6 separate regions of the Homo sapiens genome follow, and regions 2, 3, 4, 5 and 6 are each linked to region 1. Evidence: promoter capture Hi-C in 16 types of primary human blood cells and fetal thymus (Javierre and others, 2016). All regions are on one chromosome and are shown on one strand. Each heading gives the region's core, a stretch centred on a gene start or on the middle of the fragment in contact. The rest is flanking DNA. Distances are from core to core; before and after follow the strand shown.

Region 1 (5,092 bases), core at 1,231-3,730:
TTCCAGACCAGCCTGGCCAACGTGGTGAAACCCCATCTCTACTAAAAACACAAAAATTAGGGCCAGGTGCAGTGGCTCACGCCTGTAATCCCAGCACTTTGGGAGGCAAAGGCAGGTGGATCACCTGAGGTCGGGAGTTCGAGACCAGCCTGACCAGCATGGAGAAACCACGTCTCTACTAAAAATACAAAATTAGCTGGGGGTGGCGGCACATGCCTGTAATCCCAGCTACTCAGGAGGCTGAGGCAGGAGAATTGCTTGAACTCGGGAGGCAGAGGTTGTGGTGAGCCGAGATCGCGCCATTGCACTCCACCCTGGGCAACAAGAGTGAAACTCCATCTCAAAAAAAAATAAAATAAACAAAACAACAAATAAAACCACAAAAATTAGCCAGGCATGGTGGCAGGTGCCAGTAATCCCAACTACTCCGGAGACTGAGGCAGGAGAACTGCTTGAACCCAGGAGATGGAAGTTGCAGTGAGCTGAGATCGTGACACTGCACACCAGCCTGGGTGAGTGAGTGAGACCCCATCTTAAAAAAAAAAAAAAAAAGATTACTTACAATATCCAATAAAATGTAAATACTATGTAAGTAGTTGTTACGCTACACTGTTTAGGAATAACAAAAAAAAAGTCTGCACATGTTCAGTACAGATCCAATTTTTTTCCTGAATATTTTTGAGCTGCGCTTGGTTGAATTCACAGATGCAGAACCCACAGATACGCAGAGCCAACTGTATACAATAAAAAAGGGGAATCTGACACAAATAAATATTTTCCAAGTTACAACTAAAGGGAACAAGGAGGAGGCCAGATGATCAAACGAAAACTGTTTCAGAACATCTTAAACATTGTTCTTAGAACAAGCTAATGGCTGGGGTGTGTACAAAATTTTAATAGCCCCTATACTGGAAGGAAAAAAAAACTCAATTTTGGCTCCACAGCGCCCCCTCGTGGGTATGAGATGAAGTGCAAGTGCTTCACATTCAAAATCTCTGGTTAAGCCGTGTCTTCTGATGGAATTAAATCGAATGCAGTCCCTCAACTTTGTATGTCATGCATATGCAGCTGTCTTTTGTAAGGCTGTTGCAGATCCAATTCCCCACAAACCCTTCTCCCCTCCTTCAGTCAAGAGGCCTTCCCTGAGTTCCTGTCATGGTCAGCCACATTACTTGGCACTCGGGAAACTCAGATGAATAAAACGTAGGCCCCATTCCAAACAGCTGGTCTAGCTTTTGCTCCACGGCCCGATTTTGTCCCAGAATATTCCGCTCATATATCGGTCTCTCTTTGTTTCCTATTTCTCCTCCCTTGATCTCTCACATTTCATCACCTTCCTCCTCCTCCATCCCTCCAAAATAGCGTTCCTCACACTTGCCAAATTATAAAGCCCAGTTTGAAAAGCAAGGCTCTGAGACTCTGTGATGACAGTGCAAAGAGCGTGGGACTGAAAACACAACACCTGGGGACCATTAAGCAAATCTCTCCCTCTCTTACCTGTTTCCGGGAGGGGGGCGGGTGGGGAGAACATTTACGGAGTATTTACAGTACCAGGCCAAGTACTTTATGCGCATGTCATTTAATCCCTATACCGACCCTAGGAAGTGCCTTCTAGGGCAGGTGTGGGAATTAAACAGCTCCATTACAGTTGGGTAAATCGAGGCTGGAAAACTTAAGTTTACAAAGCTGAGTTAAGTGACAAAGCCAAATTTAAACCTGTATCTGGCTGGTTCTAGGTCCCTTTCCTTTAACCAACCTGAGTTCTCAATAGTGTACTACCTAAAGTATAGATGACTTATGCATTTCGGGGGTGGGGAGGGGCAACTTTGGACTCTGATGCTCTCACACACAAAAAAGGGGCGAACTACACTCGATGTATTCAGTAAATGAGTTTCTAATTCCTACTAGTGAGTGAGGTTCAATCAGAAACGGCTGGGAGGGAGGACGGGGTCTTAAAGGGACCCCCAGCGTGACAACATCTAAGTCCCCTCTCCCCATCACGGTCGAGTGTAACGCACCCAGGGCTTCCCCGCTACTCCAGCACGGATGGGGGTAACTTCCCCGAGCCCCGCAACTCCCGGCGGCCCCTCCACGCAGCCCCAGGCCCCGGAGGCCGCCCCGCCCCTCTCCCGAACAGCCCCACCCCCTCCCCCAGCGGTCCCACCTCCGCTCCGGGCGGCCGGGCGAGCGGCAGGACTCACCTTCGTCCGACTCGCGGCCCCGACAGCTGCGCTCGTCGTCCTCGGCGCTCTCCAGCTCTTCATCCTCCTCGGGGTAGTACTCGGGGGCCGGCGGCGCTCCAGCCTGGGCCGGGGCCGGGGCCAGCAGCCCCGCGGCACTCATGTCGCCTCTGACCGCAGCTGAGCGTGGCCCACGGACACCGCGGCCACCCGCGCTCGGTACTCGCCGTCTGCCTAGCAGTGTCCGCGGCAGCCCCCAACTCGAGGACCGGCAGCCACGGCGACCCCTTCCCCGTCTCCGCCGAGCTCCGCCCCCCGCGCCCGCGCTCGGCAACGGGGGCCTCGCGCCGCGAGCGACTTCCGGGTCGAGAGCTGCCCGACAACGGCCTGATTCCGCCATCCTTGGGGGAGTGGAGATGCCGCTGGACGCCCCCGTCGCCACAACCTCAGCCCTTTCATCGCCGTCTTAAAATCCTCAACGTATAGTGGGGGAGGGGCGGAGCCAGGTTCGCTAGAGTCAGGCAAATCTACGGGCAGGCCCAGCAGCGGTCAGGACCCCGAGGCTCGCAGGCGACTTCCGGAGACAGCCGCCAGGCGGCGCCTGGAGCTAGAACTAAAGCGGTGATCGTTAGCGACCTAGGGGCGGAGGGTTTGAAGGGCCCTTGGCAGGTGGAGGTGGTCTCTAATTTAAGCAGGGAACGACGCGACCTGCCCCCTTATTAGGTCGGAAAACCTAGACGTCCAGAGTGTGCGTGATCATGCAGCCTGGCTCCTCCTGTGACTAGTTAGAGCTTTATTAAGAGCTAAAAGACAAGGATGCTGATATTCCATCCTGGGGACAGCAAAATAGTATTTTCCCAGCCCTTAGGAATCCTTTCTGTTTGTGTAAGGTTTATTCGGTAAGATGTTCCCCCGGTTTTACAAATGAGAAACGAGCTGTCGTTTGCCTAAAAAAAAATAGTAACGTCCAGTCTGATTTTTTAGACTCCGAGACCCAGGCCCTCCGCGGTACAGCTGCCTTGAATATTAATTTTTTAAAAGGTGCTTTTGCTTAATCCAACAGCTTGCTCTGAGCTCTCAACTGAAGAAGGGGAGAATTTGCCTACCAGAAGTTATTTGGCTAAGGCCCACGTGGAAGCTTAAAAAACAGGAGAGCTGAGTATCTGCAAGAATTAATTTGTGCGATTCCCTCTGAGTAGAAAAGGAACACGGTGTTATAAGTTTTGCTGAACGAATAGATTTAAGGTGTCCCTTTAGCTAAGAGCAATGTGGTCTAGTTGTGTGTAGCGAGAAAAAAGGGTAAGGTTTTTAATGGTTTGTCCAAAGTAGCCCCACTTTTATGTTCCACCCGAGTCTCCGTAGGAAACGCAACCAGTAGTGAAAATGAACAGATGTGAAAACCAGGGTGGAACCGAATATTCCCATTCTCAGACCTTTTGTGATTAAATTTATCTCTGAATTGTTCCCTATGGACTCTTCTGAAAATGAAACGTTATTCTCATCCCACTTATTTTGACATTTATTTACTACCTTGTTTTAATTAAAATCTTGGCTCTATTTGTAAGTGATTTTTTCTCCCAACAAAACTAAAGAATTTCCAGAATGGAATGCTAAGATGTCTTTCCAGGAGTTCTGAGATCTTCTGAAGCCCCTTCTAAATAAGAATCATTCTCAGATCGCACCGTAGGTCTGCCATCTATATTTAAACTAGGATTCCAGAACTGTCTCTTGTCCAAAAGATGAAGTCATTTTCTTTCTTTGTGCTGTTGGAGAACATCTAAATTACTTGCAATCAACTATATTGAGTAACTTGCGTTCCTGTCAGTAGCAGTAATCATAGTGCAGAAAAAGCAAAGATTTTAGAAATCAAGAGTTCATTGATACAATTAATTTTTAAGTTTATTTCGTTGCTAAATGGTTTCCTTTCAAGACGCTGAGATTTTTATCCTGCTTATGTTTTACTGCTGTCTTCTTGACTGCAAACAGCATCTGTTAATGGTCATGCATTTCTTTTTTATATGTAATGAATAGACACAACTGAGCACTTGGGTTATGAAAACTTACCCCATTTTTTTCTGTCCAGATTGCCAGCTGCAGAACTAAAAAATGCTCTTTAGTGAAGGTGGACCTACTCAAAAAAATTCTCTTATGGCTTTAGTCTTACCTAACCTTTAGATTTATTTAATATGATTTTGGACAGTCGCTATACTCCTGTAAAAATCAAGTTCCCTCAAAACCAAGTTTTACCACCTTGAAATCTTTTTATATATCCCTTCTCAAAACGGTACTCAGCCACACCGCTCAGGAACTCGACTTGACTTGAAACGAAGCCCTGCCAGCCCCATTTCCACAACTTCTTTGCTTCCAGGCCTTCTCTGCCTACCCTAACACCCAAACTGAAACTTTAAAGGGGGACATCACAATTGGAATGGAGTATGATTCTTTTTTTTCTTTTTCTTTTTTTCTTTTTTTGAGACGGAGTTTTGCTCTTTCACCCAGGCTGGAGTGAAGTGATGCGATCTCGACTCACTGCAACCTCCGCCTCCGGGTTCAAGTGATTCTCCTGCCTCAGCCTTTCTAGTAGCTGGGATTACAGGTGGGTGCCACCATGCCCGGCTAATTTTTGTATTTTTCGTACAGACGGGATTTCACCATGTTGGCCAGGCAGGTCTGGAACCCTTGACCTCAGGTGATGAATGGCGTATGATTCTTAAAACACTAGAAGAAACATGTATACTGTTTAGAACACAAACACATTTTGTCAGCTGGAGTTAAAAAGTTAACAATCGAGGGTTCTCTGAGAACTAAGGCCTGTATACATCTGACAAAACTTAGGATCAAAATGTGTTCCTGAGACAATTTCTTCATAAAATGCTAAATTCTAAAGTCCATAAACTTACTTTTGGCGTTAA
Region 2 (5,092 bases), core at 987-3,486, 1.3 Mb before region 1:
CCAGACAAACGGGTTTTGGCAAATGGTGATGTTTTTGTTTTCATGGTTCCTGTGGGTTGTAGTCTTTGAATTTTTATTTTCTAATGAAGTCGTCTGACCACGGTCAAAATTGGACTCGCAGAGTCGTATCTGTCTTTGTTGCTTGTGATGGGAACCACAGATGCAATTCTGTTCTTTTCGATGTTACTGTTGGGCATGAAAATCTGCCACAAGGTCGTAGTTGTAAGAATGAAAATAATTCAGAAGATGAAGTGGTGAAATGTGAACCTTTCTTTCCTTGTAGCATTAGAAAAACATCTGTTAAATATCAACCAAGCATTTCAGTGATTGTCTAGAGGATTGTGGGAGGTCACAGAAAACTTCCAAAGCTAAGTCAACATAGTTTGGTTTCAAAAGGAAGTGCCAAGGAAGAGTGTTTGAACCCTAAGGAATAGCCCGAAAGAAACAACCAACCAATTCCACAGCCACACCGTAAAATGAGGCCTAACTCTTCATGCTGGCCACTCCTGTTTCATAAGCACAAAATTAGATGTCATGTTTTCTGCGCTTACAACTTAATTGTCACCGGACTAAAGAGGTTGATTGCATAGCAAATTCCATAACCATGGAACTTTAGGATTTGGAGGGTTAGGCCAAAAGAGAATTTGCTTAATAGGACTGTCTTCAGAATTGGACCTCTTGAATGTGATTTGCTATAGAAAGCATTCGTGGGGGCCAGCTCAGATTCCATTCTCAGAATACAGTGGTTACACTGGCTTGTTCCACTGGTTCTAAGCCATGGGGAGATTTTGCTTCCCTCCTCCCAGAGGACATTTGACAATGTCTGGAGACATTTTTGGTTGTCACAACTCGGGAGTACTACTGGTATCCAATGGGTGGAGGTCAGAGATGCTGCTCAACATCCTACAAGGCAAAGGACAGCCCCCCACTGTAAAGCATTATCTGGCCCAAAGCCTCAATAGTGCCAAGGTTGAGAAACCGTGGTCTGTTCTAGTTTTAGTCCCATGTCTTCCTTGGCAATTTAAATACTGCTAATGATGTCTAAAGCATGTAGACCGTGGCTCTAGGCCTACAGTGTTAAATGAGAAAAATAGTTTCTTATTTGCCCACTCAAATGCTGAAGCTGTTTCCTGAAGCTGGGGAGGGTGGGGGTAGTGGAAATAGAGTCCAGTGTTGATCACTTTGTTTTCCCTTGAGTCTGTTAATGATGAACGGAACTCTATTTGCCCTAGAGAGATTGTTAGAGGTAGATGAAAGAACCTTGAAAATGACTTTATTACTCTGCATAAGTCAGGCTGTCTTTCAGAGAGCCACAAAAAAGGAAACAAAAAATCGACCAAGGGTATACACATCTTGGCCTGTTCTCACTGGCCACTGAGTATTTCAGATGGGATGGGTGAATTCTTTTAGGGGGAGGTAGCAGTAAGAGCTGGCATCCTCATCTGGGGAAAGGCTCTTTAGTTGTATGAAAGACAAGACGACAATGTAGTTGTGGGAGCCCACCCTGAGGGCAGAGCCTGGTGGCTCGTTCTAGAGCCAGTGGCTGGGGTCCCAGAGACGGGGCTCCGGCTGCTGCTCCAGCTTTTGGGATCTTCTCCAAATGTCTGACTCACTATAGTGACGATGACTCTTAGGAGGATCCTGTGGATGTTTTTACAATTAATAGGGATGACTGGGGTTTTAGAAGAAATGTATACGTATCTACAACTTCCATGTTTTCTCCTGAAGACAATTATAGTTGGCATACCAGGGCAGAAGGCTCTAGTTTGTTTCTCCACTAATTTGCTGGCCAAGATGAGTGCTGAAGCTTTTATTCCTCAGAAACTTTATGATTTGATGAGTGGTCCATGTCTTGGGTCTTCATCAATTCATTCAAACCATTTGTAAACATTGGTGGATGTCTTAGCCCATTTAGTGCTGCTTTAACAAAATACCTGAGAATGGGTAATTTATAAAGAACAAAAATTCATTCTCTCACAGTTCTGGAGGCTGGGAAGTCCAAGATTAAGGCATGGGCAGGTTTGCTTGTCTAGTGAGGGCTACTCTCTGCTTCCCAGATGGCGCCTTGTGCTTGGGTCCTCTGCAGGGGAGAAAAGCTGTGTGTCCTCACATGGCAGAAGGTGCCAGGGCACATGAGCTGAATGCTGCCTGAAGCCTCTTTGATAAGAACCTCAATTTCATTCATGAGAGGAGGGGCTCTCATGACCTAATCTCTTCTTAAAGGCCCTACCTCTTAATACTATCACATTGGGGACATTTGAATTTTGAAGGTGACACAATAGCAGAGGAGGATCAGATATGGGAAGTAAATGCTTGAAAGTGAAACTGTGCTCATACAAAAGGAACTGAATTAAAATGAAATTTTGTTCTTTCCTAGACTGGCTCGTTCAGTCTCTGACCTCAGCCACAGATCGTATCATGATGTTCCAGGTTTTTTCTCTCAGTCTTTTAGGAGCCTTGGAGATTTCCTAATTGAGCTAGCTGAGGTGCAGGCACAATTTTCTTGTCTGGCCTTTTGACTTCCTGTTTGTGGCCTTAGCCCTGCAATACTGATTTACATTTTAGTAATTTTTTAGGCTTTAATTTGGCTCTATAAATTCATCTGTATATCAGCTTCTAGAGGGAAAAATGTATCTTCATTGAAAAGCAATTTGAGTTAAGCTTTAACTAAGTCCTCACCCATAAAGGAAATGCTAATGAAGAAAGGATTACTTGGTCATAGGACACGATTTGACATATGGCTTTGCCCCTGTGATTTGGGCAAAACAAGGTCTCCTTTTCCACCTTTGTAAAATCACCATTAACCTTTAGCTTCTTGGGTATGGAGGCTTTCACTTGGTGGGCAGGCTTTCCGACTATAATGTGCTTTTTAAAGAAAATGAAATCCTTTGAATACGCACAGAGATGTGTTGTCTCTGACCATGTCCTCTTGTTTTGTGTCTCCTCCATCATCTCAGCAGTGACCTCACCTGGAAGTCCCCTGTGGCCCCAGGGCTTGGAGAACTCATGGGGTGACTGGCTCCAGTAAACCAGTCTTATTTTACATAGCATTTTCAGCTTGGGTTTTCTGCACCAGTGGGTAGAGCTCATTAGCATGCTTTTCTGCTAAATTTAAAATGTTTCCTGATACCTGAGAAGGCTTAAAGGAACACCCATAACCTTCCACCTTTTTGGAGGAGGGACACGGCCTCTTTTAGTGGATGAAAACAGCTCTGACTCCACAACGTCCTGCTCTCTCACACGCCAGGGTCACGATCCCAGGCTGTCCCACCGGGCTTGTTTAGGAGCAAAAGGAAACAAACCCTCTGGCCTGGGGACACCAACAACTGGCCGAAGCCAGGAGCCTCTGCTGTTACCCCTCTTCAGCTTCCCCTTGTGACTTGAGCTGTTCAGAGGGGCTCAGTTTTAGGGGTCCCTTAAGGTTCCAAACTGTGTGAATGGGTGTGAGTCACAGGACTGGTTCTCAGGCCTGGGCAGCTGGAGTAGCCCTGTCCGCTCAGAGCCACAAGAACGGTACTGAAACGCAACTCTCGAAGAGTTCCAGTCTCTTCTCCAAGGGACTGAATAAAATCAGAGCTCCTCCAGGCACATGTCCAATTATTTTTACAAAGTTTTATTGAAACTTGTCCATCAAGGTGACAGTAATTCACTGTTTTGAAAAGTCACAAAAAAGGGTACCCCCAAACTCAGGTATACCAAGTAAATACTGGAACCCAGGGAGCTCACTCCTCCCTCTCCCACCAGGAGCAAAGGGCATAACGGGAGCTTCCGCTGACTCACAGCAACCTGGGCTAGTGGGTACATCTGTGGCGACTCCCGGGAAACTGAGCTGCGTATAAAGAAGTCTGCTTTGGTCCAAAGGACATCTTCCTGACCCAGACTCAGAAGGCTGCTGTCAAGTTCTACATTCCTTTCAGAATAAGCAACAGCAACTGCTGCAGTCTTGCTAACTAGGGGCAGAGGTCCTGAGCAAGGTGCCACGGGACCTTGTAAAATCACGCTGTGTGATTTTATAGGGAAGAGGGCAGAGTGCCTCTCAAGTTTTCACGGTTAACACTGTCACCTATTATGACTGGAATAAAAAGCTGGACAACCTGCCAGCTAACTGGTCAGTCCTGAGGATCATCCAGCTGAATGGAGAAATCCGGCAGCAGGTTGAAAAGTCTGTTCTGAGAACAGATTATTGCTGAGCAGAGTTCATGTGACTTCTAGACGTGGTGACTTAAAAAATGGCCTTAAGGCTGCAGAGCCAGCCACCTCTGCTTACAAAAAGAGTACTTAGTGCACATGACTGTAAGAAACAATTGTAAAACCTCATCTAGAAATCAGAAAGCTTCTAATTTCTATAGAAATGACACCTCCCTGGAGCCGAGAGACAATCTGTTGTTGATTTTGAAGGACAGGCAAGACCAACACTGTATTTAGTTCCATAGCCAGGCCTCAACAGGGACAAGTGGCTGGCCTTAAAAACACACAGATGACTGGAAATGATGTGTGGCCTCAGTCCCTGTTTCCCAGAATTTTACTGGCAAAGGAGTTAGCATTCATTTTTGGCTTAAGAAAAATCGAGAATGTAGGTTTAGAACTGCACCCAGCCTCATGCACCGCGGGGCCAGGGCTGCAGATCCTCTGCCACCCCTCCCTCTTTTCTTGGACTTGATGAGTCCCCGAGGCTCAAAGCCATGGGGGTGCTAGGAGGACTGTCACAGACCGAGGCGCTGCAGGAGCTGCTCTGCCTGGACAAACCTTCAAGCAGGACCAGGGCAGGTATGAAATGTCTTCTGAAGAGTGTGAAATGAGCAATGTACAGTCCATTCCCTCTTGGGGAAAGCATGCACGTGTGGAGCCTGGTGGTGTGCTGTCTCCTGGGCCACCATCCGCCCCCAGCTCTTCATATGGGCTTGTATAACAAGGTGGTGACGTACTTCTTCTTGTACCGGTGGGTTGCGCTGAGCACCATCACTCCATCCTAAGGAACAAGGTGGAAATGATCAAAGGCTGGACTAAGGGGCTCAAGCCTCAGAGGACATGAGAATCATTAAGGGCTTCATAAAACCACAAATTCCCGGGCCAGCTTCAGAACCTGAGCCTG
Region 3 (5,092 bases), core at 1,076-3,575, 1.3 Mb before region 1:
CTATGCTGCCAGGCTGGAGTGCAGAGGCTAGTCACAGGTGCAATCATGGCTCACTGCAGCCTCAAAGTCCTGGGCTCAAGTGATCCTCCTGCCTCAGCCTCCTGAGTAGCTGGGACTACAGTTGTGTGTCACCATGTCCCGCCACCTCAGTTTTGTAATGACTGCAGATTTCATAACAAGAAGAGGTCTATGTATAGAGTGCTTACTGTACACCTGCCACTGTCCTAAGCACTTTCCTTGCTTTAAGCCATGTACTTCTTATAAAGCTTTAAGAGGTGCATTTTGTTATTATCCCCACTTTACATAAGAAAAAACTAAGGCACAAGTGGAGAAGTAACTTGTCCAATGGCACAAAGCTAGTAAGTGGTGAAGCCAGGATTTAGATACAGGAAATTTAATTCTTGAGTCTATGCTCTTAGCCACCATGCAAAACTACTGCTGCACAGATGTACTATATTGCAGTGGTCCCCAGTGTTTTCGGCACCAGGGACAGGTTTCGTGAAAGACAATTTTTCCATGGACTAGGGTTGGGGGGATGGTTTTGGGATGATTCAAGCACATTATATTTATTGCGTACTTTTCTATTATTATTGCATTGTAATATATAATGAAATAATTACACAGCTCCCCATTATGTAGAAACAGCGGGAGCCCTGAGCTTGTTTTCCTGCAGCTAGATGCTTCCATCTAGGGGTGATGGGAGACAGTGACAGATTATCAGGCATTAGATTCTCATAAGGAGCATGCAACCTAGATCCCTCGCATACGCAGTTCACAATACAGTTTGTGCTCCTGTGAGAATCTAATGCCACCACTGATCTGACAGGAGGCAGAGCTCAGGCAGTAATGTGAGCGATGGGGAGCAGCTGTAAATACAGATGAAGCCTTACTTGCTCACCTACTGCTCACCTCCTGCTGTGCGGCCTGGTTCCTAACGTACCATGGTACTGGTCCGTGGCCTGGCGGTTGGGGACTGCTGCCTTAAGGTACTGAATCTATCATTTCCTTAATGTATTTTTTAAAATGTTGTAGGATATACTGTTCTAGAATGTACCTGGGACTTTGGGTTTATTCATGTATGGTAAGGCCAATGGATCGGAAGACCATTGCCATTAAAAATATAGTTTTATTGCTCACAGTTCCTGATATGCTTTGGCTGTGTCCCCACACAAATCTCATCTTGAAGTGTAGGTCCCATAATTCCCACGTGTCGTGGGAGGAATTTGGCGGGGGCGGTCATTGAATCATGGAGCCGATTACCTCTATGCTCTTCTCCTGATAGTGAGTGAGTTCTTATGAGATCTGATGGTTTTATAAGGGGCTTTTCCCCCTTTGCTTGGCACTTCTCTCTCCTGCCTCCTTGTGAAGAAGGATTTGTTTGCTTCTCCTTCTGCCATGATTGTGTTTCCTGGGGCTTCCCAGCCATGGGGAACTGTGAGTCAATTAAACCCCTTTTCTTTATAAATTACCTAGTATCAGGTATTTCTTCACAGCAGTGTGAGAACAGTCTAATACAGTTCCCAAGGGGCAGGAGCCCGCCATGCCATGCAGAACCACAGGAGAGAACTTTGAGGTTGGTCACAGCCAGAGAGGATGAGAAGAAAGCCTAGGAAAAAGCCTTTATTGTGGTTTTTGCCAGGAGGAATGGGCGAGGCAAGGTAAGCAGCTGAACAGGCTTAGGATTGGATAGTCTGAATAATTCAGGCCAGCTGTGGGCTATAGGTGTCGTACCTAACTGTCTGACACCCAACCCTGGGATGATTAGGGCTTAGGATTGGATAGTTTGAATAATTCAGGCCAGCTGTGGGCTATAGGGGGTTGGGGGGGGTAGTCTCTAAATGTCTGACACCTGACCCTGGGATGATTAGGGCTTAGGATTGGATAGTTTGAATAATTCAGGCCAGCTGTGGGCTATAGGGGTAGTCTCTAAATGTCTGATACCTGACCCTGGGATGATTAGGGCTTAGGATTGGATAGTTTGAATAATTCAGGCCAGCTGTGGGCTATAGGGGTAGTCTCTAACTGTCTGATACCTGACCCTGGGATGATTAGGGCAGGGGAAACTTGCCTCTCGGAGTGGAAAAGCCAGAGAGAGGAGGTGGTTCAGAGTATGGGCTCTGAATTGGTTGGACTGCATATTGCAGGAAGGTCATCTGCTATCTCTTGGAATGAGCTAACCCTGGGACAAACAGTCTCTTTCAGGTTGGTAAGTCCCCAAGATGTCAAGCCTCATAAGATATAGAAAATGAAAAATGCGATTAATACATATACATAGCATAAACTTTATTATTTTATCCATGTTAAAGTGTACAGTTCAGTGACATTAAGTACATTTACATTGTTTTGCAGCCATCATCACCATCCATCCACAGTTTTTTCATTTTGCAAAACTGATACTTTATGCCCATTAAACAGTAACTCCTCATTCCATCTTACCCTTGACCCCAGCAAGCACCATTTTACTTTCTGTCTGTATAAATTTTGCTGCTGCAAGTATCTCAGATGTATGGAATCAAACAGTATTTGTGCTTCTGTAACTGGCTTATTTCACTTAGCATAATGTCTTTGAGTTTCATCTATGCTGTAGCATGTATCAGAATTTCCTTCCTTTTTAAGGCTGAATCATATTTTGTATGTATACACCACAGCTTGTTTATCCATTCATCTATTGATGGACAGTTGGGTTGCTTCTACCTTTTGGCTATTGTGAATAATGCTTCTAAGAAAACAGGTGTACAAATATTTCTTCATGTCCCTTTGAGTTGTTTTGGGTATACAGAAATGGAATTGCCAGATCCTATGGTAATTCTATTTTTAATTTTTGGGGAATTGCCATACTGTTTTTCATAGCCGCTGTACCATTTCCCACTAACAGTACACAAGAGTTCCAGTTTCTCCACATCCTCCTATATTTTCTTCAGAAATTATATCATTTTAGGTTTTACATTTAGCTCTATGATCTATTTTGAATCAATTTTTATGTATGGTGTGAACTATGGGTTGAAGTTCATCTGTGGGCACATGGATGTCCAATTATTCCAGCATCATTTGTTGAAAACACTATTCTTTCTCCATTGGATGACCTTTGCACCTTTGCCAAAAATCAATTTACAGCCAGGTGCCGTGGCTTATGCCTGTAATCCCAGCACTTTGGGAGGTCGAGGTGGGAGGATTGCTTGAGCCAAGGAGTTTGAGACCAGCCCTGAGCAACATAGTGAGACCCCATCTCTACAAAAAGTAAAAAAATTAGCTGGACATGGTGGCATGCACCTGTGGCCCCAGCTACTTGTGGGGCTGAGGCAGGAGGATCATGTGAGCCCAGGTGGTTGAGGCTTCAGTGAGCCATGATCGCATTGCACTCTAGCTGGGAGACAGAGAGACACCCTGTCTCAAAAAAAAAAAAAAAAATCAATTGGCTTAGTCTAGTGGTGGCTCACACTTGTTGTCCCAGCTACCTTAGAGGCTGAGGTGGGAGCATCACTTGAGGCCAGGAGTTCAGACCAGCCTGGGCAACATAGGGAGGCTCTGTCTCAAAACAAACAAACAAACAAACAACCAAAAAACAATCTATTGACTTAATCTAGTGGTGGCTCATACTTGTTATCCCAGCTACCTGAGAGGCTGAGGTGGGAGGATCACTTGAGGCCAGGAGTTCAGACCAGCCTGGGCAACACAGGGAGACTGTCTCAAAACAAAACAAAACAGGCCTGGCGCGGTGGCTCACCTGTAATCCCAGCACTTTGGGAGGCCGAGGCGGGTGGATCATGAGGTCAGGAGATCGAGACCATCCTGGCTAACAAGGTGAAACCCCGTCTCTACTAAAAATACAAAAAATTAGCCGGGCGCGGTGGCGGGCGCCTGTAGTCCCAGCTACTCGGGAGGCTGAGGCAGGAGAATGGCGTGAACCCGGGAAGCGGAGCTTGCAGTGAGCCATTGCGCCACTGCAGTCCGCAGTCCAGCCTGGGCGACAGAGCGAGACTCCGTCTCAAAAAAACAACAACAACAAAAAAACAAAAAAACAAACAAAACAAAACAAAAACAATTAACCATATATGTGTGGGTCTATTTGTGAAGTTTCTATTTTGTTCCATTGATCTATGTGTCTGTCTTATCAATACCACACTGTCTTTTTTTTTTTTTTTTTTTTTTTTTTTGAGACAGCGTCTCGCTTTGTCACCCATGCTGGAGTGCAGTGCATGATCATAGTTCACTGTAACCTTGAACTCCTGGGCTCAAGCCTCCTAAGTGGCTAAGACTATATTCATGTACCACTATGTCTGGCTAATTAAAGAAAATTGTAGAGATGGAGTCTTGCTATGTTGTCTAGGCTGGTCTTAAACTCCTGGCCTCATATAATCCTCCCACCTCAGCCTCCTAAAGCTTACAGGTGTGAGCCACTGTGCCCAGCTTCACACTGTCTCAATTACTGTAATTTTATGGCAAGTCTTCACATCAGGCAATGTAACTTCTCCAACTTTGCTTTTCTTTGTCAATATTGTTTCAGCAATTCCAGTTCTTTTGCCTTTCTATATAAATTTTAGACCCCACTTGTCAGTTTCTACAAAAAGTCTTGCTGAGATTTTGATTAGACCATAGATTTATGGTCTTTAATATTTATTCACAAATTTAATATTCCTACTACTTTTCATTTTTTTTCCTTTAAATACTAATTCCCATCTGGTTTCATTTCCCTGTAGGCCAAAGGACTTCCTTTAGCATTTCTTGTAATGCAGATCTGCTGGCAACAAAGTCTCTAAGTTTTTAACTAAAAATATCTTTATTTTGCTTTCATTGTTGAAGAATATTTTCACTAGAGCTTGACACCTTTTTTCTTTCAGCATTTTAAAGTTGTCATTCTACTCTATTCTGTATTTAATTGTTTCTGATGAGAATCAAGTCTTGATGCCAAGACCTGAAAAAAAAGAGAAGTCAATTATCATTTTTACCTTTGTTTCCATGTACGTGATGTATCATTTTTCCCTCTGGCTGCCTTTTAGATTTTTTCTTTTTCCAGTAATTTGCCTAGGTGTGTTTTCCTTTGCATTTATCCTGATTGGGTTTTTGTTTTTTTTTTTTTTAGCTTCTTGGATAT
Region 4 (5,092 bases), core at 1,459-3,958, 1.2 Mb after region 1:
AACTGTCTCTACAAAAATACAAAAATTAGCCAGGCATGGTGGCATGCTCCTGTAATCCCAGCTACTCGGGAGGCTGAGGCGGAAGAATCTCTTGAACCCAGGAGGCCAAAGTTGCAGGGAGCCGAGATCGTGCCATTGCACTCCAGCGTGGGCAACAGAGTGAGACTCTGCCTCAAAAAACAAACAAACAAACCAAAAAACCCATATCCATTGAGCCATTTCTCCCTGCTTCCCACACAGTTTTGTCAAGCAATTTTTTTTTCGTTTCGTTTTTTCTGAGACAGCATCTTGTTCTGTCACCCAGGCTGGAGTGCAAAGGCATGATCTCGGCTCACTGCAACCTCCACCTCCCTGGTTCAAGCGATTCTTCTGCCTCAATCTCGCAAGTAGCTGGGATTACAGGCACCTGGCATCATGCCCGGCTAGTTTTTGCATTTTTGTAGAGATGGGGTTTCACCATGTTGGTCAGGCTGGTCTCGAACTCCTGACCTCAGGTGATCTGCCTGCCTTGGCCTCCCAAGGTGCTGGGATTACAGGTGTGAGCTACCGCATCCGGCTCAAGGATTTTTTCTATACCAGCCACTGTTCTATGCCCCTCACATGAATTTCCTCATTTAATTCTCATGACAGCCCCAGGAGACAGGCATTATTATTATTAATTATTATTCCCATTTTACAGATAAAAAACTGGGCCTCAGAAAGGCTAAGTAACTTCCCTAGTCAAACAGCTGGTTAGACTATCGCAATCAATAGATAATTGAGAATCTGCTCTGTGCAGGGCATGGGTCAAGTAACTAGGCTTCTAGAGGTGACTCAGACACAGTCCTAGCACTGAACTCCCTTCAGATTTAGTGGGAAAGATGCATGTTGAATAGTTGTAAGTTAAGTAATTACAAGACTGCAAAATGCTGGGCAGGAGCCATATCTGGTGCTGGTGCTGGGGCGGGGGAAGGGAGAGCATTTGGAAAGGTTAAGCTGAGCCCTGGAGGAAGAGGAGGAGCTACTGGAAGGGGAGGACTGCATGAAGTGCCTTGCAGGCAGCAGGAATAGTATATGTAGGGCCAGAAATGGGAGGAAAGAGATGACCAGCCTTGCTGGGGTATGCATGGCTAGTGAGAGAGAAAGACTTCAGATAGGTAAGAAGAGGTGGAGTTTGTTGCTTTGCAACAATGTTTGGGATGTCACATTCATTTCTACGGGAAATAGGGAGCCACAGATGGCTCAACGCCATCCATTGAGAGTCACTTTACTAGTTCAGCTCTCTCAGGGCATCTTGATTTCCAAGTTGCCAGGAGTACTTCATTGGACCCTCCATGTACTGACAACAGATCCTTCTAACTGTAATTGCACTTTGAGGTTTTGAAGCAAAGACTCCATTTTTCTCACCCCTGTATCCCCAGGGCACACAACACAGGGCTTTGGCACTGAACTAAACTGATTTTTTTTTTTTAATGTGCAGATCCTGAGACTACCCTCCCAATCCTGAGTGATAACTCCCGCTTTGAAGACTCAAATCCAGGCTTTAGCACTTTTGTCTCTGTAACTTTGAACCAGTGACTGCCACCTGGAAGAACTTTGCCTTTTCTGTAGAATAGGTATAACTGTGGTACCTATTGTGGGAGGTCAGACTATGCTCCCCAAATATGAAGGATTGTTGAGCTGGAAACAATTAAGAAACCAGTACAGGAGAGCTCTCTGCCTGCCCTCTATTAGCCTAAAATCAGGGCACACATTTGAGGATTATTATTACTCCCCTACACCATCATAGAGGGCTTCCCATAGCACCCACTCAAGAATATTGTTATTATTACATCATATGGTTAAGATTACTGACAAGCAAAAGTCAAGTGGATCTGAAATAGAATCCAAGACAAGGGGCTGGGCGCGGTGGCTCACGCCTGTAATCCCAGCACTTTGGGAGGCCGAGGTGGGTGGATCATTTGAGGTCAGGAGTTCGAGACCAGCCTGACCAACATGGTGAAACCCTGTCTCTACTAAAAATACAAAAATTAGCTGGCTGTGGTGGCGGGCGCCTGTAATCCCAGCTACTCGGGAGGCTGACGCAGGATAATTGCTTGAACCAGGGAGGTGGAAGTTGCAGTGAGCCGAGATCACGGCCACTGCACTCCAACCTGGGTGGTGGCGCGCGCCTGTAATCCCATCCGCACGGGAGGCTGAGGCAGGAGAATCGCTTGAACCCAGGAGGCAGAGGTTGCAGTGAGCCGAGATAGCGCCACTGCCCTCCAGCCTGGGTGAGAGCAAGACTCCTTCCCAAAGGGGGAAAAAAAATCCAAGACAAGGGATCCTGAGCAAGCCCTCTCACTCTCCGAACCTGTTTCCCCATCTGTAATATGGGGAGAAAGTTCGCAGGGTAATTCGGAAAGGTCCAATGCGCACAGAAAGCGCTCAGCACGCGTGAGAATAGATACCATTTTTATTTGTTAATTTTAAACATTAATTACGTTTAAAAGAATCAGTGCTACTATTGTTGTCCCGGACTAGAGGCGGCTTGCGCTGCCGGCTCCAAGCACAGAGCCCAATTATGTCCTCCCTTTTGCGGCGCTGCCACCCGCGCAGCCCCCAGCCGATGCAGGGGAGGTGTGGCCCGCGGATGGGCGGAGCGATCTCAGGACTCGCCCCCAAGACCAGTAGGCGGGGCCAGGCGGGGCGCCCGGGCACTCTCGCACGCGCGCGCGCGGCGGCCCCAGGTACGCGGACAAGATGGCGGCGGCAGCAGTCGACAGCGCGATGGAGGTGGTGCCGGCGCTGGCGGAGGAGGCCGCGCCGGAGGTAGCGGGCCTCAGCTGCCTCGTCAACCTGCCGGGTGAGGTGCTGGAGTACATCCTGTGCTGCGGCTCGCTGACGGCCGCCGACATCGGCCGTGTCTCCAGCACCTGCCGGCGGCTGCGCGAGCTGTGCCAGAGCAGCGGGAAGGTGTGGAAGGAGCAGTTCCGGGTGAGGTGAGCCAGCGGCCCCGCGCCCCGGCTGCGCGCCCACCGCCCCGCGCCCCCCGGGGCCGGGCAGCCGCCCCGCTAGCTCCCCGCGGCCGCCCCGCGCGCGGACCCCACCCCGGACCCCTTCCCGCGGACAGACAGACAAAGGCCTCCAGGCCCCGGACCCTGCGGGGCCACGCCAGGCGGACCCCCGGGTCCCCAAATGGCGCATCTAGGAGCGCCTCGCAGCCGGGTCCTCCGTCAAGGGTGACGCTGGCGGCGGCGCGGCTCGTCCCTTTTGCGCGCTTCTTTTGTGCCCGACTTCGGGCTGAAATGTTTACATGGACCCAGTGATGCATCGATCGGGCGGGCGCAGCATCCCCGGGCTGGTTGTGGACGGCACAGATTTCAGCGTGGCCCCAGGATGAAATCTGGCCCTGCACACTCCCTCTGTGACCTTGGGGGGAGCGACTTCCCTTTTTTTGAGCCTCGTTCATAGACTTTGAGTGGTGGTGATCATTAGACCTACCTTTCACCGTGTTTATTAAATTAGATGATGTCCGGGAGGCACGCACGCAGGGCCCCGGCTCCTAGGAGGCGCTCAATCAGTGCTCACTGTCATTGTCATTATTATTATTGTTGTTGTTGTTACAACTGTCCCCATTTTAGAGATGGGGAATGGAGACATCATTCATGCCGCTACGCCAAGGTCACACCGGGAGTGAGTGAGTGAATGCTGGTGGGGTTTTGAACTAGGTCTCTCGCCGGGGTCCCTCTTACCACTGGACGCCACTGCTGTCCCTGTTTCCAAGGCTGCCTTGGATTCGTGGCCGCCTGCCTTTGAGTTTCTGTTAAGCTGAGGGGGTGTTTCTCTCCTCGTAGGTGGCCTTCCCTTATGAAACACTACAGCCCCACCGACTACGTCAATTGGTTGGAAGAGTATAAAGTTCGGCAAAAAGCTGGGTTAGAAGCGCGGAAGATTGTAGCCTCGTTCTCAAAGAGGTTCTTTTCAGAGCACGTAAGGATCTGTTGATGTGGCTCTAAGCTTTGGCTTGCTGGTGTATGTGTCTGGGTCTGCAGGCATGAGCTCATCCAGCTCTTTTCGTATCTCCCTTTTCAATGCTCTCACAATCCCTTACTCACTTAGATGGCTGCAAGAGTCATTGTGTCCTTTTCCTCCTATCCAACAACACGAAGCCATTTGTCTGTGCCAGCTTTACTTTTCTAAAGCCAGAGAGAGAGTGGGGGTGGAGGGAGCAGGGAGGGACCCACGCAGCACAATGTAGACGGAGTCCAGATCAGCATTATTTCTCAAATGGGTTCAACGGATTTTTTTTGCAACCCCTCCGTTATTTGGGGAATCATCAATGATTGAACACTGTAAATTTCTCCCGGTTGTTTTCCCAGAAGGGTTGACGAAATTAATGTGGTTCTTCTCTCTGGCTTTGCAGGTTCTACCCAGTAGTGAACTGCATTATTTGTTAAGGTAACAGAGGATTAAAAGCTACCTATAAATCAGAGTTATTACTCCCTGAAATGAATTGTCTTGCATTCATTATCCCTGAAAAGTTTTTGGGTTTTTTTTTTTTTTTAAGTATTGCAGAAATACATGGTGGGTTTTTTTTGTTTTGTTTTGTTTTGTTTTCTTTTTTTCTTTCCTCAAAATGTCTCATGGAAGTTTCTTTCTTTTTTCTTTTTTTGAGACAGAGTCTTGCTTTGTCTCCCCGGCTGGAGTGCAGTGGCGCAATCTCAGCTCACTGCAACCTCCTACTCCTGGGCTCGAGCAATTCTCATGTCTCAGCCTCCCGAGTAGCCGGGACTACAGGCATGCGCCACCATACCTGGATAATTTTTGTATTTTTAGTAGAGTTGGGGTTTCACCATGTTGGTCAGGCTGGTCTTGAACACCTGGTCTCAAGTGATCCGCCGGCCTCTGCAAACCAAAGTGTTGGGATTACAGGCGTGAGCCACCGTGCCTGGCCTCACGGAAGTTTCTGTATCTGCCCCTGATCCCTTTTTGTAACTCTGGAAAATAATCCACACTAATGTTTTGAGTTCAACAAACTATTCGATATTTATTTCTGGTTGGGGTTCTAGAAATAGAGCCAATCTGATTTATTTCACTTTTTTGTTTTCCTAAAGACTCCTTTGGATTCTCT
Region 5 (5,092 bases), core at 976-3,475, 1.2 Mb before region 1:
GCCACCTATACTTTTGACCAGCTGGCTACAATTTGAGGGTTCCCACTAGCCCCTCTGGTCCATTAATTCACTATCATATATATCATACTTTGTTGAGTTCTTATCTGTTTATAAGACAGAACAACCCACAGAACTCAACAAAATATGATATAGATGATTACAATTTTATTATAAAGGATATAAATCAAAATGATCCAAATGAAGAGTGACACAGAGTGAAGTCTGGGAGGGTCCAAGATGTGGCATTTCCATGTCTTCAGGATATCGATATATGATTATCGAATAGGGAAACTCACTGGAATGTCGGATGTTCAGAATTTTTATTAGGGCTTCATCATGTAGACATGCTTGGTTGAATCAATGGCCATGTGATTGAACCCCACCTCCAACCCTCCTTCTGTCCCCAGAGCATAGGAAGATGAAAGGATATAACGTGGTTCAAAACCCCAACCCTCTAATCACATTGTTGGTCTTTCTGGCATGACCAGCTTCCAGCCAAAAACTATCTAGGGACCCACTGTGGATCACCTCATTAGCATAAACTCAGGGGTGATCTGTGGGGCCCACTATGAATAACAAAGAAACTCTTCTCACTCAGGAACTTCTAAGGGTTTAGAGGCTCCCTCCCAGAAACTGGGGATAAAGACCAAACCAATTCCTTATGATACACCACTCCTCTATGCTGGATCCCAAACTCTTCCCAGGCCTGGAAACTAACACCGTCCAATATTCACTGTCTCCTCTGCTGCCACCACTTCTGGACCCAACACCAACTCTGGCTGAGGCTTTCAGCCTCTTCCTCCCTCAGCCCATCAGAGATCTCCTTTGGGGTCTCCTCCTGAACCCTACTGTCCCCTATTCCAAGCCCTTCTTTCTTTTCCTCCCAAAGCTAGTGACTTTGGAAGAGTCCACCCCTCTGTGTCTCAGTTTCTTCATTGGTAAATGTAGGATGTGGATTGGTTTCAACTCAGCTGTTACTTCTTCCAGTAAGCCTTCTCTAGAGGACACTTTTGTTTTTTTATGAGTAGCTTCTCAGTCCTTTTCCTTTTCTTGGGGAACTTTCACTCTATGAGATTAATATTTCTCCTATTATGAAAGTCAAACAATCCAGATACTTGCTTTCTCAGCTTTTTTTGTCAACTAGGATATGATCATGTGACTTAGGCTTTGCGATCGGATTTTTATGTTTTCAGAGGCAGTAATGTAAAGACTCAGAGTTAAATTAGCCAGAATCAGATTCTATTGCTTGCATATAAAGACTTTGGCTGATGTACCTTTTTTGACTTGCCAGACTCCGGTGGTGGCTTTCTGTGTGCTCCATCTTTCTCTGCCATTGTTGTCATAGCTGAGTTGTATTGAGTCTTTACTGTAAGCTGGATGCTTTACACAGCCTATTTCACTGAATTTTTTTTTTTTTGAGATGGAGTCTCACTCTGTCAAACAGGCTGGAGTGCAGTGGCGTGATCTCGGCTCACTACAACCTCTGTCTCCCGGGTTCAAGCGATTCTTCTGCCTCAGCCTCCAGAGTAGCTGGGATAACAGGTGCCTGCCACCACTCCTGGCTAATTTTTATATTTTTAGTAGAGAGGAGTTTCCCCATGTTGGCCAGGCTGGTGGTCTCGAACTCCTGACCTCAAGTGATCTGCCCACCTTGGCCTCCCATAGTGTTGGGATTACAGGCGTGAGCCACCAAGACTGGCCCAGGCTATCTCATTGACTCTTTAGTGGTGTTCTCATTTTACAGATGAGATATATAGAAGTGAAGATACCTCTCAAGGTCATACAGCCAATGACAACACAACTAGGATCTGAACTTTCTCAGTCTGACACCTGAACATTCTGTTTTAACCATCACAGTATAACACCACTATTTAACCTTTGGAGGACACAGGCTCTCTTTATACCTCTGGCGTCTCTCAAATAGCCTGGAGCATGGTAGGTGCTCAATGATATGCAAGCTCAGGTTGATGACAAGGTCTCACCTGGCGCAAACATTCTATGAGTTTCCTACCTCCACCTGTCAAACTGCAGCCCTTCTTCTTTCAGTCCCCTTCTCCCACTTGTTACCTCCAGGACTTACCATCTAATCAATATACACTATTCTTCACCTCCTTCCCACCCCTGTTCCCGTGAACACCTTAAAATGATTGTTGAAAATCTTCCCCCGTCACCAGTTTTTCATTTTCACCCCTGTTCCTAGATTATTTTGACTTTGGGGATGAAGATGTCTCTGCCTTGTGAAGGGCTTTGTACTGTGTCATATGTTCTCTGCCTTACCCCCAGCTCCTTAGTGACCCCTGAGTTTCACATCTTTGGGAAGGTTTTAGCAGAGTTAATGTTGCCATTTGCAAGGCACACTGCAGCCTTTTTGTGGAGTTCCAAGTATAACAAATCTGGGTTCTCTTTGGCATGATGACATCTTGCTTGAAAGAGTCAAAGGCTTTCTCTGAGATTTGCAGACGAGGGAGCTATCATTCAAACAGCTATCAAAAGAGCAGATGTTAGTTAAGGGCGAGGCGTGAGAATGATATTGTTATTGGTTTATGCAACTGAGTATTTTCAGCTTCAAGTAGCAGAAAACCCAGACTCAGCTGCTTTGGGCAATGAAGGTTGTATCAACTCACTTCAAAATGTTCCAGCCAAGGTGATTCTCTTGAATCTGCCCCTTGTTGGCAGCAAGGTGCCTGCACAATTTAGTGAAGACACGATAAGTTCCGGGAAAGGACTGTTTTCCTCTGTGCTCTGTGTTTTTTTTTTTTTTTTTTTTTTGAGATAGAGTCTTGTTCTGTCACCCACGCTGAAGTGCAATGGCGTGATCTCGGCTCACTGCAACCTCCGCCTCCCGGGTTCAAGTGATTCTCCTGCCTCAGCCTCCTGAGTAGCTGGGATTACAGGTGCCCACCACACCCAGCTAATTTTTGTATTTTTAGTAGCGATGGGGTTTCACCAGGTTGGCTGGGCTGGTCTCGAACTTCTGACCTCAGGTGATCCACCTGCCTTGGCCTCCCTAAGTGCTGGGATTAAGTGATTGCATGAGCCATTGTGCCCGGCCTCCTCTGTGTTTGTTTTAAGAAGAAACAAACCTTTCTCAGGAGCTTCCCCTTGCAAACCTGGGGTAACATGACCACCTATAAATTAACCCTAGCATGGGGAATGGAATTGCCAATATAGATTTAGACCAATCAAAATTTATCCTGATTCACATGGGAAGGGGTAGACACTTGAACAAAATCAGGACTCCTAGCAAAAGAAGAATGGGAAATGGCTGTTGAATAGCATCCGTGGTGATAGATATAATCCCAAAAGGCAAGCGGGAGAGACTTTTCATCAGAACATTAAAAGTGAATTGGGACAAAGGATGGGGGTATTTCTGGCTTAAGTCATGTGATGGAAGGGACTAGCTCTGTGATGTGTAATAGAAAACCTGCCCCAAGCTCTGAAAGTAGACTTTTTACTTTTAAAAGTCTAAGGTCAAAGGAATGCCTCAGCTCTATTCTCGCCAACCTGTTGGGTCATTGAGGGAACTGTTTGTGCTGGCCTTAGGACACTGAGCTGTGAGCTTATTTTTTATACTATCAGGCTCCACCTTTGCCAGGATGGGCAGTCTCACATCTAAGCCAGCCTCCTGGACATCTTTATTTCCTAGAAGGCAGTGGGGATCTGAGGAATCCTGATGAGTCTAACCCTGATGATGGCTTCTTTTAGTTTCTCTCAGTCATCCGTCCGTCCATCCATCCATCCATCCATCCATCTATCCATCCATGCACTCAAGTATTCATCCATTTATCCACTCAACTGTTCATCCATCCATGCATCCATCCATCCATGCATCCATCCATCCATCCATCCATCCATGCATCCATGCATCCATGCATCCATCCATCCATCCATCCATCCATCCATCCATCCATCCATCCATTCAGTTGATGCCAGAAATGTTATGAGAAATTCTGGGAATACAATAACAAATAAAGCAGATGTAGTCCTTGCCCTCATGAAGGCTAAATCTAGTTGGGAAGACAGATAATAAGTAAACAAACATAAAAAAATTCAGAGCTATTTTGAGACTAGGCCAGAAAGGAATTTGTGCCCTCTCCACTTTTCACTAGTGTGGTTCCTTTGCCCCAGGGTAGTGTGGTGGAGAAAGCTACAGAGTTAAATAGCCAGACCCAAATCTCAAATTACTTGGTGTGTCATGTCTTCAAAATGTGGGTGAGATTTGCTTTGCACATCTCAGAGGATTGCTTTGAAGATCACATGGTGCTAATGGATGTGAACACCCTTCAAAAATGTAAATGGTTTCTAAATTTTATTATCACTAAAGCTCGAGCTCTGATTCCCCCCAAAAGATGACCAATTTGAACCCCAAGACAAGATCCTTTAAGTAGAGAGGCAGTGTAATGTGGTTAAAGCAATATTGCAAAATTTCAAGACGACCACGATTTGAACTCTTGATTAATTGCTTGAAGGCGTGTGACTTGGGCAAGCCACTTCACCTCCTTTAGCTTCAATTTTCTGTCATCTGTAAATGTGAATAAGCATAATAATGCTAGCTTCACAGGATAATTACAAGGAATCAACCAGCAAATGCATATGAATTACATAGTGCCTAGCATAAGGCACTTAGAAAATTTTCATGTTTATTAAATTCTTACTCTACATTATCTTTATCTGACTTCCCCTGGCTACCTCCAGATCCCAAAACAGGGAAGGACACTCAACCTCAGCCATGCAGGTGAAGCTCAGGGACTGAAATGAGCAGTATTGGGTAAAGAGGAAGTGATGCAGGTGTTGTTTTAACATTAGCTTGGGCTTTTATTTTGATATCATTCTTTACAATTGGTCATAGCTTTTGGTCCAGTTCCTCCCTTACCTGCAAACCTTTAAATGAAATGCCAAGGCAGGGTGGTGACAAGAGTCTGGGTATTGGTTTTAATGCACTGGTGTGAACCTTCAGCCTCTTTCCTCCTTCATATAAAGTAGGAAGATAGGAAGTGAAATGACCACCAACATAGCAAATTAATGCAGAAGTTTGTATACGAAGCTCACTATGTCTGTTAAAAAGAAAAAAGGTTACCTACCCCAATTATGT
Region 6 (5,092 bases), core at 1,458-3,957, 1.0 Mb before region 1:
AGATCGTCAGAAACACCATGTGATGTCGTGTAATGTACCAGGTTAAAAGGTGGTAAATGGAGGTGGGGTTCTGGGAGGGATGGAGCACGCATGGACTAACAGTGGACTCTTAGATGGGGATGGTTTTCTTGGCAGATATACTCACATTTAATATTCATGTGCTGGGGCTGTTTAAATAGTAGCATCGGGAAGTGGTGTGGTTTAACCTGACAGCTGAGAAGTGAAGTGTGGCAAGAATGGATGGAAAGACGTTTGCTGTCAGAAAGACCTAGGTTTGAGTCCTGGCCCTGTCACTCAGGAGTTCAGTGACCTTGAGTGAGGTAACTTTACTCCCCAGTCTCAGTTTCCCCATCTGTGAAATGGAACTAATGCCAGTCCTACCAGAACTAATGCCAATCCCCATCTGTGAAATGGGACTAATGCCAATCTCCTATGTGCTCTGCACTGTCCCAAGTGCATTCTTATATGAAATAGATGAGTCCATTGAGTCCTTGCCATATTATTATTCCCATTCTATAGGACAGCAAATAGAGGCTTAAAAAGGTGAAACTGACTTGCTATTAAGTGGCAAAGCCTGGATTTGAACTCATGGTCAAGTGACATTGACGACTGTGTTCTTATTCACTACTCCATTCTGCACCCCCATCCCACTTTGCCCTATTTTGCATAGTGGGAACTACCTGAGGGGTAGCGGTTGCTAGCTATTGATTTACAGATACTACCTCCAAAACTCTTCCACTGAATTTTGTTAGATTTCATCATAAAGAATTTAATATGGCAGAAAATCAGAATGATTTGTTGGAGGTCATGGCCGGAAAGCCAATTTTCTAAATATCTGTTGTTCTCTGTGTTTTATGAAAGAATGTTCTGAACTCATCTTTGTTATTCCTTAAAACATGATCTACTTCCTAGAATAAGATGAAGATGGAAGTGAATTCCTGTTAAATGTGCCCGGGCTGATACAGACATCAGGGAAACAGCTGGGATGCTCCGTCGAGGGGTGAGCGGGGAAGGGAGGCTGAAAAGACAGCACTGAGAAGCGAGCTTGCTGATTAACAAATTTCAGACTCATTATGGAGAAGCTGTAAAGAACAGAGTAGGCGGGATCATGGCAGGAGTACACACATGAACCCGGAGACCTTAGCTTGCACACGGATGTTTAAGTTTTTGGTGGTTTTAATATTTTATTTTTTATTTTTGTGGGTACATAATAAGTGCATATATTTACGGAATACATGAGTTGTTTTGATACAGGCATGTAATGTGAAATAAGCACATCATGGAGAATGGGGCATCTATCCCCTCAAGCATTTATCCTTTGAGTTACAAACAATCCAATTATACTCTTAGTCATTTAAAAAGTGAGTTATTATTGACTATAGTCAACCTGTTGTGCTATCAAATAGCAGGTCTTATTCATTCTTTCTATTTTTTTGGTACCCGTTAGCCATTCCCACCTTCTGCCCCCCATCCCCCACTATCCTTCCCAGCCTCTAATAACCATCCTTCTACTACCTATGTCCATTAGTTCAATTGTTTTGATTTGTAGATCCCACAAATAAGTGAGAACATGTGATGTTTGTCTTTCTGTGTCTGGCTTGTTTCACTTAACACACTTAACATAATGATCTCCAGTTCCATCCATGTTGTTGCAAATAACTGGATCTCACTCTTTTTTTTGTAGCTGAATAATACTCCATTTTGGTGGTTTTATGGTGTTGATAGGCAGTTCCTTTTGGGGAGAGTGAGGTATTTTTTTTGTCATAAGAATGTAAGATGTGTACCTACCCACATAGAGATACCCAGAATTAGTGACCTCATCCACACACAGATCCTTCAAACTGAAATAGGAAATATACTATAGAATTACTTAACAGGCCGGGCATGGTGGCTTATACCTGTAATCTCAGCACTTTGGGAGGCCGAGGCGGGTGGATCACGAGGTCAGGAGTTCGAGACCATCCCGGCTAACACGGTGAAACCCTATCTCTACTAAAAATACAAAAAATTACCCAGGTGTGGTGGTGGGTGCCTGTAGTCCCAGCTACTCGGGAGGCTGAGGCAGGAGAATGGCGTGAACCCAGGAGGCGGAGGTTGCAGTGAGCCGAGATCGTGCCACTGCACTCCAGCCTGGGGCGACAGAGCGAGACTCTGTCTCCAAAAAAAAAAAAAAAAAAAAAAAGAATTATTTAACATCTCTCCTTGTTGAAGACAGGTTGCATCTTTTATAGGAAATTTTGATTGTCAGGGAGAGGTGGTAGAAGGAGAGACTGTCATCTGGGGAGACGAGCAAGTCCTCTACTGAGAACTTAGGGGAGACAAAGCAGCAGGAGTCCTCTGGGAAGAAGAGGAGAAGGAACAATGATCCCTGGGAAGGAAGCTTCTGATACTCAGCACATGGTACAGGGCCTGGCTCTGCATTCTTTCTGTCATTGCTGAATGAATGAGAAGATGAATGCATCACAGTCTCAAGGTTTAACCCCACAGGTTAATGATTCGTTACAAAGGAAACGAGATACCCATATAACGGTGAGGTCTGGCGGACACCACTTTAACCATCATGGCTATGCTTAGCATCACCAATGACAGGACAAACTCTTATCAGGTGAACCTGAAGTGATGCACTGGGAAGGGCACAGCATCGCCTACATGGTTACATCACCTACATACATGTCCTGCCCCAGAGGTCCAATCTGAATCTAATCATGAGAAAGCAATCAGAAAAATAAAAAGTGAAGGTCATTTTACAAAATAGGTGATCTGGACTCTTAAAAGATGTCAATGTCTGTGTCTGTTGGGGCCTCTGGGAAGCAGACACGGAGAAAGGACTACAAAATGCTCATTGCGGGTAAGCCCATGAAAGAGAAAAGGAGGAGGAAGTGGGATTTGGCAGGGGAGCCCTAGACCATGATGCAGATCTGACAGAGTCCAGCCAATGCAACAGGGAGATCCAGAGCAAAGATTGCTTGATTGAGCCCAAGCACAAGGCAGAAATGGCCAGTGCCCACTGATGGGGAATTTCTGGGGAAGCTTCTGACTTCCGCTGCATGAAAGCTGCTGTGGATGCTGGCGGTGTCAACAGCTGGAGAGTCTCAGCTACCTGTGCCGCCTGCTGGCAAGTTCTTTCTTGGAGAGAAGTCCAAGGGATACACCTCTTTGTATTCTAACAATGTCATAAAAGAGGAAGAAGGCAGAAGATCTGTTTCTCTAGGACACCAAGGGGACACAACAACTAAATGAAATGCATGGTCCCTTGATTGAATGCTGGACTGGAGACAAGGCTATAAAGGGCATGACTGGGATAACTAGGGACATCTGCACATGAACTTTATGTTAGATAACAGCATTGGGGCTCACGCCTGTAATCCCAGCACTTTGGGAGGTTGAGGTGGGTGGATCACCTGAGGTCAGGAGTTGGAGACCAGCCTGACCAACATGGTGAAATCCTGTCTCTATTGAAAATACAAAAATTAGCTGGGCGTGGTGGCGTGCACCTGTAGTCCCAGCTACTCAGGAGGCTGAGGCAGGAGAATCACTTGACCCCAGGAGGCAGAGGCTGCAGTGAACTGAGATTGCGCCACTGCACTCCAGCCTGGGGAACAGAGTGAGACCCCATCTCAAAAAAAAAAAAAAAAAAAAAAAAAAAAAAAAAAAAAAAAAAAAAAGAAAGAAAGAAAAGGAAAAAGAAAGAAAAAGATAATAGCACTGGGTTAATGTGAAATTTCTGTGTTAACTGTATTGTGACTATGAAGGAGAATGTCCTTCGGTAATACATGCTGAAGTGTTTAGGTGTGAAGTGTCTGTAACTGACTTTCAAGAGGCTCAGCTTAAAAAATTGTAAATATACACACATATTATATATATAGTACATACATACATATATACACACATGTATGCATACATACATACATATGAAAAATATGGAAACATGTTAAAAACATGACAAAAAGATAACATTGTGAATTTAAGTTAAGGGTATTTGACTGCCTGTTGTACTATTTTTGCAAACTTTCTGTAGGTTTGGAATCTTCTACAATCTTTTACAAGTTAGGGAAAAAATATGAAGTGACTGAAACCCCAGTTTCAGGTTTTCCTTTGCTGCAGTTAATTTGCTTGGGTCTTCCGTAAATGTCAGTGAAGCAGGACTGCCTTATGGAAGCCGTGCTTTGGGAATAAAGGAAGGGTCTGGGCTTCTTGCTGACATTCAGGGTGGGAGCTTGGATGAAGTTGGGAAACAAAGGTAGGACCCATGCCCCTGAGGCTGGAGAAATTGTGGCCCAGCAGAACCTACAAGTCACCACCTGTCATAGTTTTTTGGTTGATTTGTTTGTTTTGGCTAAGTGTTGAGGCCCTGGCTATGTCAGTACCTCTTCTTGAGGACTTAATTAAGGTCACACCTTAACCACTTCCTTTACTGGGCTCTCTGGGGCCACTATGCACCTGCTCAGGACCAGGTACTAGTTAAATAACTAGGGGGACAGAGCCTGATTGTATCTAATAGAGCAGAAGTAACTCCATAAAAGGAAATTGGGTGCTCTGGGAAGGAGGATTGTATGCCTGCCTGTCAGCCAAAAGCCAATAAAAGAGATAAAGTAAGAGAAAAAGGAAAAAGGGGGGTAGAAAGAAAAATCTTGCTGATGTATTCCAAAAAGTAAAGATAAACCATTTCCTCCTCCAGGCAACATCCCAGGCTGGTTAACAAGATCTCTCTTCCTCAGGATGACTGAAGTTTGGGACCAAATCGCTATTTGTTGTGGGGGATTTTCTTGTACATCATACAATGTAGCATCTCTCCTGCAAGTTACAACAATAAAAATGTCTCCAGACATTGCCAAGTGTCCTCTGGGAAGCAGAATCACCCTCAATTGAGAACACTACTGAGTTAAACTTTGATGAGGGGAGGGGTGGGAATGTTCTTTTTTTCTTTTTTTTAGACAGAGTTTCGCTCTTGTTGCCCAGGCTGGAGTGCAATGGCGCGATCTTGGCTCACTGCAACTTCTGCCTCCAGGTTTAAGCAATTCTCCTGCCTCAGCCTCCCAAGTAGCTAGGATTACAGGCATGTGCCACCATGCCCGAATAATTTTGTATTTTT

The links. The method cuts DNA at HindIII sites, captures the fragments that hold promoters and counts their contacts. A CHiCAGO score of 5 or more calls a contact.
Region 2: a contact is called between a fragment that was not itself captured here and the fragment with the promoter of SUDS3 in region 1, in 2 of 17 cell types (total B cells and naive B cells). The highest score is 10.3, in total B cells.
Region 3: a fragment that was not itself captured here is called in contact with the fragment with the promoter of SUDS3 in region 1 in 1 of 17 cell types (total CD8 T cells); the score reaches 5.3 in total CD8 T cells.
Region 4: a contact is called between the fragment with the promoter of FBXO21 here and the fragment with the promoter of SUDS3 in region 1, in 6 of 17 cell types (naive CD4 T cells, non-activated CD4 T cells, total CD8 T cells and 3 more). The highest score is 8.5, in naive CD4 T cells.
Region 5: a contact is called between a fragment that was not itself captured here and the fragment with the promoter of SUDS3 in region 1, in 3 of 17 cell types (naive CD8 T cells, total CD8 T cells and naive CD4 T cells). The highest score is 7.9, in naive CD8 T cells.
Region 6: a fragment that was not itself captured here is called in contact with the fragment with the promoter of SUDS3 in region 1 in 1 of 17 cell types (endothelial precursors); the score reaches 6.7 in endothelial precursors.

Annotation. Positions count from the first base shown.
Region 1 is chr12:118,373,943-118,379,034 of GRCh38, reverse strand. It overlaps SUDS3 (SIN3A corepressor complex component SDS3), which reads right to left and starts at 2,480. Exons shown (of 12, transcript NM_022491.3): 1 at 2,202-2,480. The coding sequence starts at 2,343. It overlaps LOC124903031 (a long non-coding RNA gene), which reads left to right and starts at 2,908. Exons shown (of 2, transcript XR_007063480.1): 1 at 2,908-3,079; 2 at 3,244-3,737. RefSeq lists silencers at 2,084-2,233, 2,264-2,483 and an enhancer at 1,925-2,425. The HindIII fragment of the contact is 4,103 bases long and covers 1-3,320 here.
Region 2 is chr12:119,680,125-119,685,216 of GRCh38, reverse strand. All of the region lies in intron 1 of LOC124903033 (a long non-coding RNA gene), which reads left to right. PRKAB1 (protein kinase AMP-activated non-catalytic subunit beta 1) reads right to left here. Exons shown (of 7, transcript NM_006253.5): 7 at 3,598-4,969. The coding sequence ends at 4,892. Among named protein-coding and RNA genes, the nearest start is that of PRKAB1, 15 kb to the right of the region's middle. RefSeq lists enhancers at 2,856-2,985, 3,156-3,215, 4,811-5,092. The HindIII fragment of the contact is 854 bases long and covers 1,810-2,663 here.
Region 3 is chr12:119,653,958-119,659,049 of GRCh38, reverse strand. All of the region lies in intron 1 of PRKAB1-AS1 (PRKAB1, TMEM233 and CCDC60 antisense RNA 1), which reads left to right. It also overlaps a transcript of TMEM233 not described here. Among named protein-coding and RNA genes, the nearest start is that of PRKAB1-AS1, 12 kb to the left of the region's middle. The HindIII fragment of the contact is 4,114 bases long and covers 269-4,382 here.
Region 4 is chr12:117,188,086-117,193,177 of GRCh38, reverse strand. It overlaps FBXO21 (F-box protein 21), which reads left to right and starts at 2,708. Exons shown (of 12, transcript NM_015002.3): 1 at 2,708-2,960; 2 at 3,816-3,951. The coding sequence starts at 2,722. RefSeq lists silencers at 2,492-2,551, 2,592-2,691, 2,972-3,021 and an enhancer at 3,492-3,581. The HindIII fragment of the contact is 6,345 bases long and covers 1-3,980 here.
Region 5 is chr12:119,546,286-119,551,377 of GRCh38, reverse strand. All of the region lies in intron 2 of PRKAB1-AS1 (PRKAB1, TMEM233 and CCDC60 antisense RNA 1), which reads left to right. Among named protein-coding and RNA genes, the nearest start is that of TMEM233, 45 kb to the left of the region's middle. The HindIII fragment of the contact is 7,127 bases long and covers 1-5,092 here.
Region 6 is chr12:119,416,960-119,422,051 of GRCh38, reverse strand. All of the region lies in intron 1 of CCDC60 (coiled-coil domain containing 60), which reads right to left. The region is part of intron 2 of PRKAB1-AS1 (PRKAB1, TMEM233 and CCDC60 antisense RNA 1); the gene reads left to right. Among named protein-coding and RNA genes, the nearest start is that of CCDC60, 85 kb to the right of the region's middle. The HindIII fragment of the contact is 650 bases long and covers 2,383-3,032 here.